Linked DNA regions of Homo sapiens: region 1 is linked to region 2. The links are contacts of gene promoters, found by promoter capture Hi-C in blood cells and fetal thymus (Javierre and others, 2016). All regions are on one chromosome and are shown on one strand. Each heading gives the region's core, a stretch centred on a gene start or on the middle of the fragment in contact. The rest is flanking DNA. Distances are from core to core; before and after follow the strand shown.

Region 1 (5,505 bases), core at 1,464-3,963, 240 kb after region 2:
ATTTCAGCCGCGGACCGTAGACATCTTGAGGTTAGGGGATGTGCTTTATTGGGCTGTAGTCTCACATTCTGCTTGTGCCTGGCTGGTGTGAGTGTCAGCCTCCTACAGATGCCCCAAGGATGGGGACAAGGGCATGGATCTGAATCCCTCTCTGGCACCTGTCCTTGGAAGAGCCTGAGGAGAGTCGCTTAACATTTCCGAGCCCCATTTTCTCACTTCTAGAGCCAAGGGAAACAGCCTACCTCAATGAGTGGTTTTAAGGATTTAAAGTGATCATATGTGAGATGTTGATATTCATGTATGCGTTGCCCCTTAGGACCAGTGGTTCGGGTTGTGTGTGAATTTGCAGATACCAAATCTGCAAGTAATGAGGGTCAGCTCTGTGTTGAGTGAAGAAAGAAATGTGGCCTGTCCTGTGCTGCCCCCACCCCCAGGTGGACCTTCTCACCATGCCTTGCCTTCTCTCCTAGCGCACCTTTTGACAAGACAGCCAACATCACCTTCTCCCTCAATGCTGACGATGAGAACGTGAGTACTGCCCTGTCCCCTGGTTGTGGCGGGTGGAGGGGTGTGGGGCTGTGGGCAGTGTGGCCCATCCTCCCACCCCTGTGCCCTGCAGCCCAACGCCAACCTACTTGAGATATGCTACAAGGACCGCATCCAGCAGTTTGATGATGATGAGGAAGAGGAGGACGAGGAAGAGGCCCAGGGCTCAGGGGAGTCTGATGGAGAAGATGGCGCCTGGCAGGGCAGCCAGCTGGCCAGGGGGGCCCGTCTGGGCCAGCCACCTGGTGTCCGGTGAGTCCCCCTCCAGTTTCCCTTCTCCAAGCTTCCACCACACGGCAGGGCCAAGGGGTCCCCCCAACACATTTGGACTGAGGCTGAAGTGAATGAAGAAAATAAGGAACCTGCATTGGTGTGTGTATTAGTTGGGGGCACTTTCACTTTTGAGTGATAGAAATCTAATTCAAGGCCAAGCATGGTGGGCTCATGTAATCCCTGAGTGCCTGTAATCCCAGTACTTTGGGAGGCCAGGGCAGATGGATTGCTTGAGCTCAGGAGTTTGAGACCAGCCCTGGGCAACATAGGGAGATCCTGTCTCTACAAAAAATACAAAAGTTAGATGGGCATGGTGGTGTGCACCTGTAGTCCTGGCTACTCGGGAGGTTGAGGTGGGAGGATGGCTTGAGCCAGGGAGGCAGAGGTTGCAGTGAGCCGAGATCATACCACTGCACTCCAGTCTGGGCAACAGAGCCAGACTTGTCTCAAAAAAAAAGGTAGATGATGCATTAAGAAATCAACAAATTAGCCGGGCACAGTGGCTCAAGCCTGTAATCCCAGTACTTCGGGAGGAGGCCAAGGTGGATGGATCGCTTGAGCTCAGGAGTTTGAGACCTAGCCTGGGCAACATAGCGAAACCCTGTCTCTACAAAAATTACCTGGATGTGGTGACGTGTGCCTGTAGTCCCAGCTACTTGAGAGGCTGAGGTGGAAGGATCGCTTTACCCTGGGGGGCGGAGGTTGCAGTGAGTTGAGATCGCACCACTGCACTCCAGTCTGGGTGACAGAGACCTGGTCTCAAAAAAAAAAAAAAAAAAAAGAATCAACAAATTAAAAAAAATCAGCCGGGCACGGTGGCTCACGCCTGTAATCCCAGCACTTTGGGAGGCTGAGGCGGGCGGATCACGAGGTCAGGAGATCAAGACCATCCTGGCTAACATGGTGAAACCCCGTCTCTACTAAAAATACAAAAAATTTGCCGGGCGTGGTGGCGGGCACCTGTGGTCCCAGCGACTTGGGAGGCTGAGGCAGGAGAATGGCGTGAACCCGGAAGGCGGAGCTTGCAGTGAGCCAAGATTGCGCCACTGTACTCCAGCCTGGGCGACAGAGCGAGACTCTGTCTCAGAAAAAAAAAAAAAAAGGAATCTAATTCAAATGAGTTAAGTTATGAAAAGAAAGGGATAATCTCTGTGGCTGAAAAAATAGGCAGGTCCTGAGGTATGGCTTGGTCTGTGTGTGTCTCTCTCTTCCCGCCTCCCTGTCTCCTTCCTTCATCCCTTCACTTCACTTCCTCGTGTTAGCTCTCACACGTTTTCCTAGAAAGGGGGGTAAGATGGTCCCAGGCAGCTTCTCTCTTCTCTAATTCCAGTAAAATGAGAGATGATGACGTCCCTCTCCAATCAGGCTGTGATGACATTTTAGTGCAAATGTTACATTGTTTTTTTTTTTTCTCTTAATACTGGCCGGCCCCAGAGTCGCTGTGATGAAATGGGTTCATGCCATGTAGATTTGACAGCCTGAACACTAAGTCATCATCTGCAACTGAGTTTTTGACTCATGACTTTTGATTTCGGAATTAGGCTGTTTTCACTTTTTATTGACATGTAACATGCGTATAGACAAGTGTACATACAGATCCTGAGTGTGTGGCCAATGGATATCCTTCCTCAGTGCCCAGACCCAGGAGCAGGACCTTCCCAGTACCCACATCCCCTCTGTTAGCCAGTATCCTCCCTTCTGAGGGTAAAGTTGTCCTGGCTTCTAACCCTGTAGATGAGTTTTGTCTCTGTTTTCACTTGATATAGCATACAGCATCTCCTTTTATGTCTGACCTCTGTTGCTCAACACTCTGCTTGTGAGCTCCTTCCCTGTTGTGTGTTTGGGTGCCCCTGGCTCTCGTGCAGTGGGGCAGTGCCATGCATGATGAGCTGCAGCTGAATTGCTTGTTCTGCAGTTGACAGGCCTTTGGGCAGGTTCCTGTTGCTCGCTGCTGTGAGTGCAGCCGCTGTGAGTGCGGCCGCTGTGAATACCCTTGCACGTGTTGTTGGTGCACAAGTGTGTCACTGCCAAATCCAGCATCTTGACTTAGCCCTCTCTTTTCTTCTAAGAGTTTTATAGCATTATTTCTATGGTTTTCCATTCATTTTGAGCTAAATTTTGTATATGATGTGAGGTGGTCCACCTTCATCCCTTTACATATAGATAACCAGTTTTCCCTGCACCAGTTGTTGAAGACACTGTCCTTTCTCCACTGAATCATCTTGGCACCTGTGTAAAAAGGAAATATTTGACCATATGTATGAGTTTGTTTCTTCCCTCTCTGTTCTGTTCTATCAGTCTGTGTGTTGTTTTTATCCAGTACCACACTGGCCTGGTTGCTGTTGCTTTATAGTAAGTTTTGAAAATGGGAGGTTTGTTGGGCACGGTGGCTCACACCTGTAATCCCAGCACTTTGGGAGGCCAAGGTGGATGGATCACCTGAGGTCAGGAGTTTGAGACCAGCCTGGCCAACATGGTGAAACCCCATCTCTACTAAAAATACAAAAATTAGCCGGCTGTGGTGGGTGCCTGTAATCCCAGCTACTCAGGAGGCTGAGGCAGGAATATCGCTTGAACCTGGCAGGCAGAGGTTGCAGTGAGCTGAGATCGCACCATTCATTGCACTCCAGTCTGGGTGACAAGAACGAAACTCCATCTCACAGAAAAAAGAAAATGGGAGGTTTTAGTTTTCCAACCTTGTTCTTCTTTTTAAAGATTGTTTTGCCCTATTTGGGATTTCTTGAGATTCCATATGAATTTTAGGATCAGCTTGTCAATTTCAACCAAGAAGCCACCTTGCGTCTTCTAATACGTGAACATGGATGTCTTTTTATATAGGTCTTAAAATTTCTTTCAACAATGTTTCGTAGGTTTTAGAGTATGAGGCTTTGTATTTCTTTTAAGTTTATTCCTGTTTTCTTCTTTCTGTTACTATTGTAAATGGAATTTTCTTGAAATTGTTTTCAGATTGTTACAAGTATATGAAAATACAATAGGTTTTTGTATGTTGATCTTTCATCCTGCAACCTTGCTGAACTAATGTATGAGTTCTGATAGTTTTAGTGGACTCCTTAGGATTTTCTATGTACAGAATCATGTCATGTGAATAGAGTTCATTTTCCTTCCTTTCAAATCTGGATGATTTTAATTTCCTTTTCTTGCCTGGTTGCCCTGGCTAGCCTCCGGGACAATGTTGAACAGAAGTGGCAAGAACAGGCATCCTTGTTTTGTTCCTGATCTTAGGGGGAAGCATTCAGCGTTTTGCCATGTAAGCATGCTGTTAGTTGTGGGGTTTTGTAGATGCCTTATGTTAGGTTGAGGGGCTTCCTTTATACTCCTTAGTCGTTGAGTATTTTAGTTTACTTTTAACTATATACAGATATATTACTTTCCAGTTAAAGTAGTCAGTTACTCTGTTAAGACAAAAATATTGGGTCAGCATTTTAGACATAGTATATAGTCCCATACTGCATCTTTGGGTCAGCGATGGACCACATATGACAGTGGTCCCGTGAGATTATAATCCTCTATTTTTGCTGTATTTTTCCTATGTTTAGATACACAAACATTTACCATTGTTAGAATTGCCTGTAGTATTCAGTACTGTAACATGCTGTATAGGTCGGTAGTCTAGGAACAATAGGCTATACCACAGAGCCTAGGTGTACAGGAGGCGCCACCATCCAGGTGTGTGTAAGTGCACTCTAGAATGTTCACACAATAGCAAAATCGCCTAATGATGGCGTTTTTCAGAGTGCACCCTCGTTGTTAAAGCTTAGTTTTAGTGTTACTTTGCTTACCCCTTCCCCGGTTGATCAGCACGTAGGTTGCTTGGATTTTCTTCATGCTCACAGGTGTGTGTTAGTCAACATTCAGCCAGTGTTTTTGGAGCAGCTATGGGTGCCTGGTGGTTTCTCAGGGCTGAGGATACAGCAGTGGCAAAACTCAGCCATCTCTGCCTTCTTGGAGTTTCTAGTTGGAGGGAGAGAGTAGTGTGAAGCCTCTGTCCAGAGGGTGGGCCTGCTGGTGGGAAGGCCTGTCACTGTGGTGACCGTGTGAGGTGACGGCTGGGAGGTGGCTTGAGAGCTGGTGAGTGGGTCTGTCTGCTCTGGTTGCCATGGCTGAGGCTCAGCCCACTTCCCCAGGGCCTGCCCTCCACGGATGACTGGCGACGGACGGTCTCCTTACGGCCGCATTCTGTCCCTGCCCGCCTGTGTTCTTGCCGTTGGCTCAGAACTCCCTCTCCCAGCCTCTCCTGGTGTCGTCACACCCCAGGCTCCCTGGACCCTTCTGTGACCTGCCTGTCATCCCAGCCCGCTCTCCTTGGGCTGACCCTGGGCTGCAGGGAACAGGATGGGTGTCGGCCGGTCTGTCCCACACAGCTAGCTGACGAGGTGGTTTCTGGGGCAGGAGTGGAGGCAGCACAGACAGTGAGGACGAAGAAGAGGAGGACGAGGAGGAGGAGGAAGACGAGGAGGGCATTGGCTGTGCAGCCCGTGGAGGGGCCACCCCTCTGTCCTACCCCAGCCCTGGCCCTCAGCCTCCAGGTGAATGAATGGGCGGTGTGGTCAGGTGTACACAGGGCTGTCTGCCTGCTACTGAGTTCACCCTCCATCCCGCTCCCCCACCTCTATCCCAGGCCCCAGCTGGACAGCCACCTTTGACCCAGTGCCTACAGATGCCCCG
Region 2 (5,434 bases), core at 2,386-4,885:
AAGGAAAAAAAAAGTGTCCTCATGGTTGAGCCTGGAACAACCTACTTCCCAACACCACAAAGCCTTCTAGGTCACTCTAGCTTGGTGCTCCAACTCCCCAAATCCTTAGACTCCAGCCCATCTACCATCCAGCGCGCCCTTTCACCTCCAGCCAACCCACATCCTCACTCCTGCCCGACCCTGCACAAACGCTGCAGGTGGCCATGACAGGCACCCCCTTGCCTGGCCTCAGTCTCACTTTCCCTTCAAGCCCACAAAATCTGCGGCCCCCTCACCATCACCCTCCCTGGCTCACACTACATGTCTCTGGCCCATGCACTCCCCAGGTGACTACCTGACATGCTTCTTTCTCCTGAAACCTCCAGCCCCTCCTCTCCCCTCCTGTTCTTGGCAGGCAACCCTGTCCTTGATCATGCCTCTGTGAAAATAAAAGCAATCAGACGCGAAGTTTCTCACATTCTGACCACGATACTAGTGGTTCTCAACTGGGACAAACTGTGCCTTCAACCCAGGGGACATCCCGCAATGCCTGGAGGCATTTGGGGTTATCTGTTAACTAGAGAGGCAAGTGCTCCTGGCATCTAGTGGGTGGAGGCCAGGGATGCTGCCCAACATCCTACAATTCACAGGACGGCCCCACAGCGGAGAACAATCCCATCCACAATGTCAGCAGTGCGAGGTCCAGAAACCCTGCGCAATCCTTCCCCACAGGCCTGACCCAGTGCCCGTGGACTGTGCCTTCCCACCCACATCCTCCACTTTTCCTCCTCTCCTGGACGTTCCCATCTGCAGAACCAACAATCTATGTCTCCCATCTTTAAAAACCAAAAAGCTCTTCACTCCACTTCCCTGTCCAGCTGCAGACTCGTTTCTCCATTCCTTCACAGCAGAGCAGCTCAAGTGTCAGCCCGCTCTTTCCCAGCGCAAACCCCTTCAGTCCCACGCGGGTGCCCCCACTCCATGGCCTGGGCGGCGCGTGGCCCGCAATGGCCCACTTGTCACTGGGTCCGTGGCCCGCCTCCCCCTGGCCTCCGGGATACCTCGCTCCCTCACTGCCCTCCGTCACCTGTCACCCCATCTCAGTCCCCAGCTTGGTTCCTTCTCACCTCCCTGACCTCTAGATGTGGGAGCGCCCGGGGCTCCGGCACCACTTTGTCCTCTGTCTGTCCTCTCTCCCTGGGAGCCCCCACCCACTCTCAGGACTCCACTGTCTATGAACAATGACTCCAGGCCTCCAGCTCTATAAGACCTACCCTCTGAATGCCACACCACCTGCTAGACTGTTCCACCTGGATGCCTCATTAGACACCTCCAACTTAACATGCCCAAAATCTAACTATGGTCTTCTGCTCCTCGCCCCCAACTTCTACTCCACCCATAGCTTCTCCATCTCTGAAAATGGCAGCCGTCTTCTTCCTCAGGCCAAAGGCTCCTCGCCTCCTCTCTCTCGATTGCCCCTGTCCGCAGATTCCCCTTCCAGGCGGAACATATCCAAGATCTGGCCACTTCTCACAGGCCTCCACCTTGATCTGAGGCACCACTGTCTCTCTCCCAGGCAGCTGCAACAGCCTCCCCACGGATCGCCGTGTTTCCACCCGTGCCCTGCCCACCCGTCTGTTCCCAATACAGCAACTGAAGCGAACCCGTCAACAGGGAGGGCTGGGCATTGCATTCCTGTACTCAGAAATCTGCCACAGTTCTGGTCTTCGAGCCTGCCGACTTCCTGCAGCCTGTCCCCTCCCTGACTTGTCCTACTGCTATCCTCACTGGCCACCTGCCCCTGGTCACTCTGGTCACCCAGGATGGCCAGGCACGCCTGCTCCCACCTCAGGGCACCTGCCTAGAACCACCCCCTTCCTTTCCACCTGTGCCCGCCACTCGCTCTTTCACCTCCGAGTCTTCGCTGAAATCCCCTCTGCAAGAGCTTCCCTGACAGCCCTATTTAAATCTACAATCCCTTCCAACTCCCCATTCCCTTTTCCTGCCTTATTTTTCCCCCGCAGCAATTATCACCTTCTAATGTACCAGGATTCTCAGCCTCAGCAGTGCTGAGATGTGGGGCCAGACCATTCTCTGTTGAGGGCTGTCCTGTGCACTGCAGGGTGTCGAGCAGCAGCCCTGGCCCCCGGCCTCGACCCACTGGACGCCTGACATTGGCCTATGAAGCCCTCCTCTACGCTGTCCACAAAGCTCACTCCTGCACCTCCGAGTCTTAGCCGCAGTGTCGCCCCTGGGGAGCACCGTTGCCCCCAGATGAGAACCGCTACTATATAACCAGTGTGCTTTCTGTTTTATTCTGCCTCCCCATGCTAGAATGTCAACGCCGGGAAAATAGGGGCTTCTGTCTGGTTCACTGTTGTATGCCATCCCAGTGCCTACAATAATGTCTGGCAGAGTGTGTGCGCAGTAAACAAATTTTAAATGAATGAAGGCTAGGCATCCCCGTCGGACAAGCTACAAGAACTTGTGTGTTTTTTTTGTTTTTTTTTGGAGACAGGGTCTCACTCTGTCACCGAGGCTGGAGTGCAGTGGCGCGATCTCGGCTCACTGCAACCTTCGCCTCCCGGCTTCAAGCGATTCTCCTGCCTCAGCCTCCCGAGTAGCTGGGATTACAGGTGCACGCCACCGCGCCCGGCTAATTTTTGTATTTTTAGTAGAGACGGGGTTTCACCATATTGCCTGGGCTGGTCTTGAACTCCTGGCCTCAAGTGATCCGCCCGCCTCGGCCTCCCAAAGTGCTGGGATTACAGGCGTGAGCCACCGCGCCTAGCCAAGAACTTCCTTTTTAAAAGATAAGTGTACCCTTTAATATGTAAGCAGGTTAGATCGCGCCACTGCACTCCAGCCTGGGCAACGGAGCAAGACTCCGTCTCCAGAAAAAAAAAAAAAAAAAAAAAACAAACCTACTGATGCTAAGAAGCTGCACGTGCCTTTGAGAAGCCCCAGCATCTCCTTAAAAGAGATATCCGTGCCCTGAAAGAGCGGGGTCCCATTTAACAAGAAGACATCCCCTTTAAAAGGCCGCGCCACACCCGTTCAGCAGGCTGGACCTCCCCTTTAAGGGGATGCTGCCACTGGAGCCCCATCTCCACTTTTGTTGAGCTAAACCAGGGATCGCTTTGAAGCAACCAGGACTCAGGAGTTTTTGCTTCAATGTCTGGGAAACGGTCACTGGCCTTTAATGAGATAACCGCCTTTTAGGGGAAAAACATTGTTTTAAGTCAGAAAGCTTCTGTAAAAATGCAAAGCCTGACCCGCCCTCTCAATGTGGCCCCTTGCCCTTTAAGAGGGCGGACCCGGCCTAGCTGGCAAATGTCGGAGGTGAAATAGTGACTCCCCTTTAAGGTACCCCTTCCGGTTTCACGCCCCCCCCCCCGCCCCACCCCCTGCAACTTCTCCGCCCTCCGGTCCCTCCCCCCACCCCCACCCCCTCCGGTCTCTCACCTGCGGCCCCAATCGGGGGAACGAGGGTGGCAGCCCCAGGACCTTCCCGCGGGGGTCGACGGGAAGGTGGGGCCCCGGCAGCGGCGGTGCAGCTGTGGGGACCGGGGAGGGGGGGCAGGGGCGCACTCCCTCCCAACGGCCCCCGGCGCGAGGCACCCAACCTTTATCGGCGGCCTCTCGCGCACACAAACCCCGACGTCGCCGTCGGTGCGTCACAACGCACGTACTCCGAGTTCCCGCCCCCGGACCCTCCCATTGGCTGTGCGAGGCCTCGTCGAGCTCGGGCGCAGGCGGTGCGCGGCATCCTGGGAGTTGTAGTTCTCCCAGTTGTGGTCGCGGACTCCAGTTGTCAGGTCTTGGGGGCCGAGGCCCCGGTGAGCCCAAGGCCAGGGACGGCCAGCTCGAGACGCGGGGTCGCAAGTTCCCCTTATTAATCCCGATTCCCTCTCATCTGCAAAAAAATCCTTCCATGCACCACGGTTGTACAAAAATCCCTCCCGTGAAGCGGGCCCCGCCCCCAGGGTGTAATCGCTCCAGCGGGAAAACGAGGCCTGGAGCGCTTCCAGTCCCTCGGTAGAGCCACGTGCTCAGGATTTTCGGGCGTGTGCTTCGTGCACGCTCATCCAGACGCTGCAGAAACCTGGTTCCTGCTGGGCAAAGGTCTGTTCTGGGAGGCTGGAATCCACAGACTCCTTGTGGGGCCTAGGGTTTTAGTGGGAGACCGAGCTGCTCCAAAGCCCCTCTCCACGCTCAACCCCCGCCCAACCCAGCGTTCCAGCCACACTGGCTTTTCTGAGGGTCATTAAACGCAGTTTCTCAACCAGAGCACTAGTGCCATTTGGGATGGATTCATTGCAGCGGGGACTGTCCTACACACTCTAGGGCCCCCACTCACTAGATGCAGGTAGCATCCCCAGCCCCGCTCCACACACCCCGTAGGAGAGCTCAGAATATCTCCAGATAGAGATTTTCGCGGTGGCTCACACCTGTAATCCCAGCACTTTGGGAGGCTGAGGCAGGCAGATCACTTGAGGTCAAGAGTTCAAGACCAGCCTGGCCAACATGGTGAAACCCCGTCTCTACTAAAAATACAAAAATTAGCCGGGCATGGTGGCAGGCACCTGTAACCCCAGCTACTCAGGAGGCTGAGGCAAGAGGATCGCTTGAGCCCAGGAGTCGGAGGTTGCAGTGAGCCAAGATCGTGCCACTGCACTCCAGCCAGGGTGACAGAGTGAGACTCTGTGTTAAAAAAAAAAAACAACAACAACAAAAAGAATATCTCCAGACATTGCCACATGTTCACTAGTTGAGAGCCACTGCTCAAAGGCAGTACCCTCAGCTTGAAGACCATTCTGCATGCTGTTTCTCAGGCCAGAAGGCCCTTCTACCCTTAACCCATCCCTGCCCAGCAAGATCCCACTGGAAAGCCTCCTGTGCTAGGTGGTGTCCCTCTTACATGCTCAGCGACATTTATCTATGTCCCATGACAGCGAGGACCTTTCGTGTCTTTGCTGCCCAGGTATTCCAAACAACCAGCATGGGCCCTGATGGAGAAGCAGACGGTACTTGTTTGTTGAATGAGTGGATTTTTCCAGCCTCCCACACCGTTTCCCAAGTCCACAAGCAGGCTGGAACTCAGGGCTGATCTGCGGTGGTGTGGACCCACCCCTACCTTACAGGGTCTTGGTGCTGATGTCTCCGTGCATTCGTGCGTGTAAAAACCCTTGGCATCCAGCTCAGCCCAACATTCCTTTCACGTCAGCATTAACCACACAAAGCGGCTGCCATGCAGGGTGGAGACGTGGATGGGAATGCACTGCCCAGCTGGCTGCCAGGCTAGGAAAGCCCAGAGGTGCGGATCCCACTTCCGTCCCCCTTGCCTCGGGCCATTTTGGTCTCTGCAGTAGTGAAAGGGGCCCTCAGCTCAGCCCCCCTCATTTACCTGCCCACGCAGAGGCATTACAAAAGGGATGGGACACCCAGCCTGGGC

What was found. Contacts are between HindIII fragments. The CHiCAGO score rates a contact against its expected background, and 5 or more counts as called.
Region 1: a contact is called between a fragment that was not itself captured here and the fragment with the promoter of ZNF628 in region 2, in 1 of 17 cell types (naive CD8 T cells). The highest score is 5.7, in naive CD8 T cells.

Annotation. Positions count from the first base shown.
Region 1 is chr19:55,231,936-55,237,440 of GRCh38, reverse strand. It overlaps PPP6R1 (protein phosphatase 6 regulatory subunit 1), which reads left to right. Exons shown (of 24, transcript NM_014931.4): 16 at 471-528; 17 at 620-798; 18 at 5,230-5,366; 19 at 5,459-5,505. Among named protein-coding and RNA genes, the nearest start is that of MIR6804, 3.7 kb to the right of the region's middle. The HindIII fragment of the contact is 3,764 bases long and covers 832-4,595 here.
Region 2 is chr19:55,474,818-55,480,251 of GRCh38, reverse strand. ZNF628 (zinc finger protein 628) reads right to left here and starts at 3,635. Exons shown (of 3, transcript NM_033113.3): 1 at 3,445-3,635; 2 at 335-418. The coding sequence starts at 341. RefSeq lists silencers at 2,914-3,237, 3,370-3,569. The HindIII fragment of the contact is 2,239 bases long and covers 3,232-5,434 here.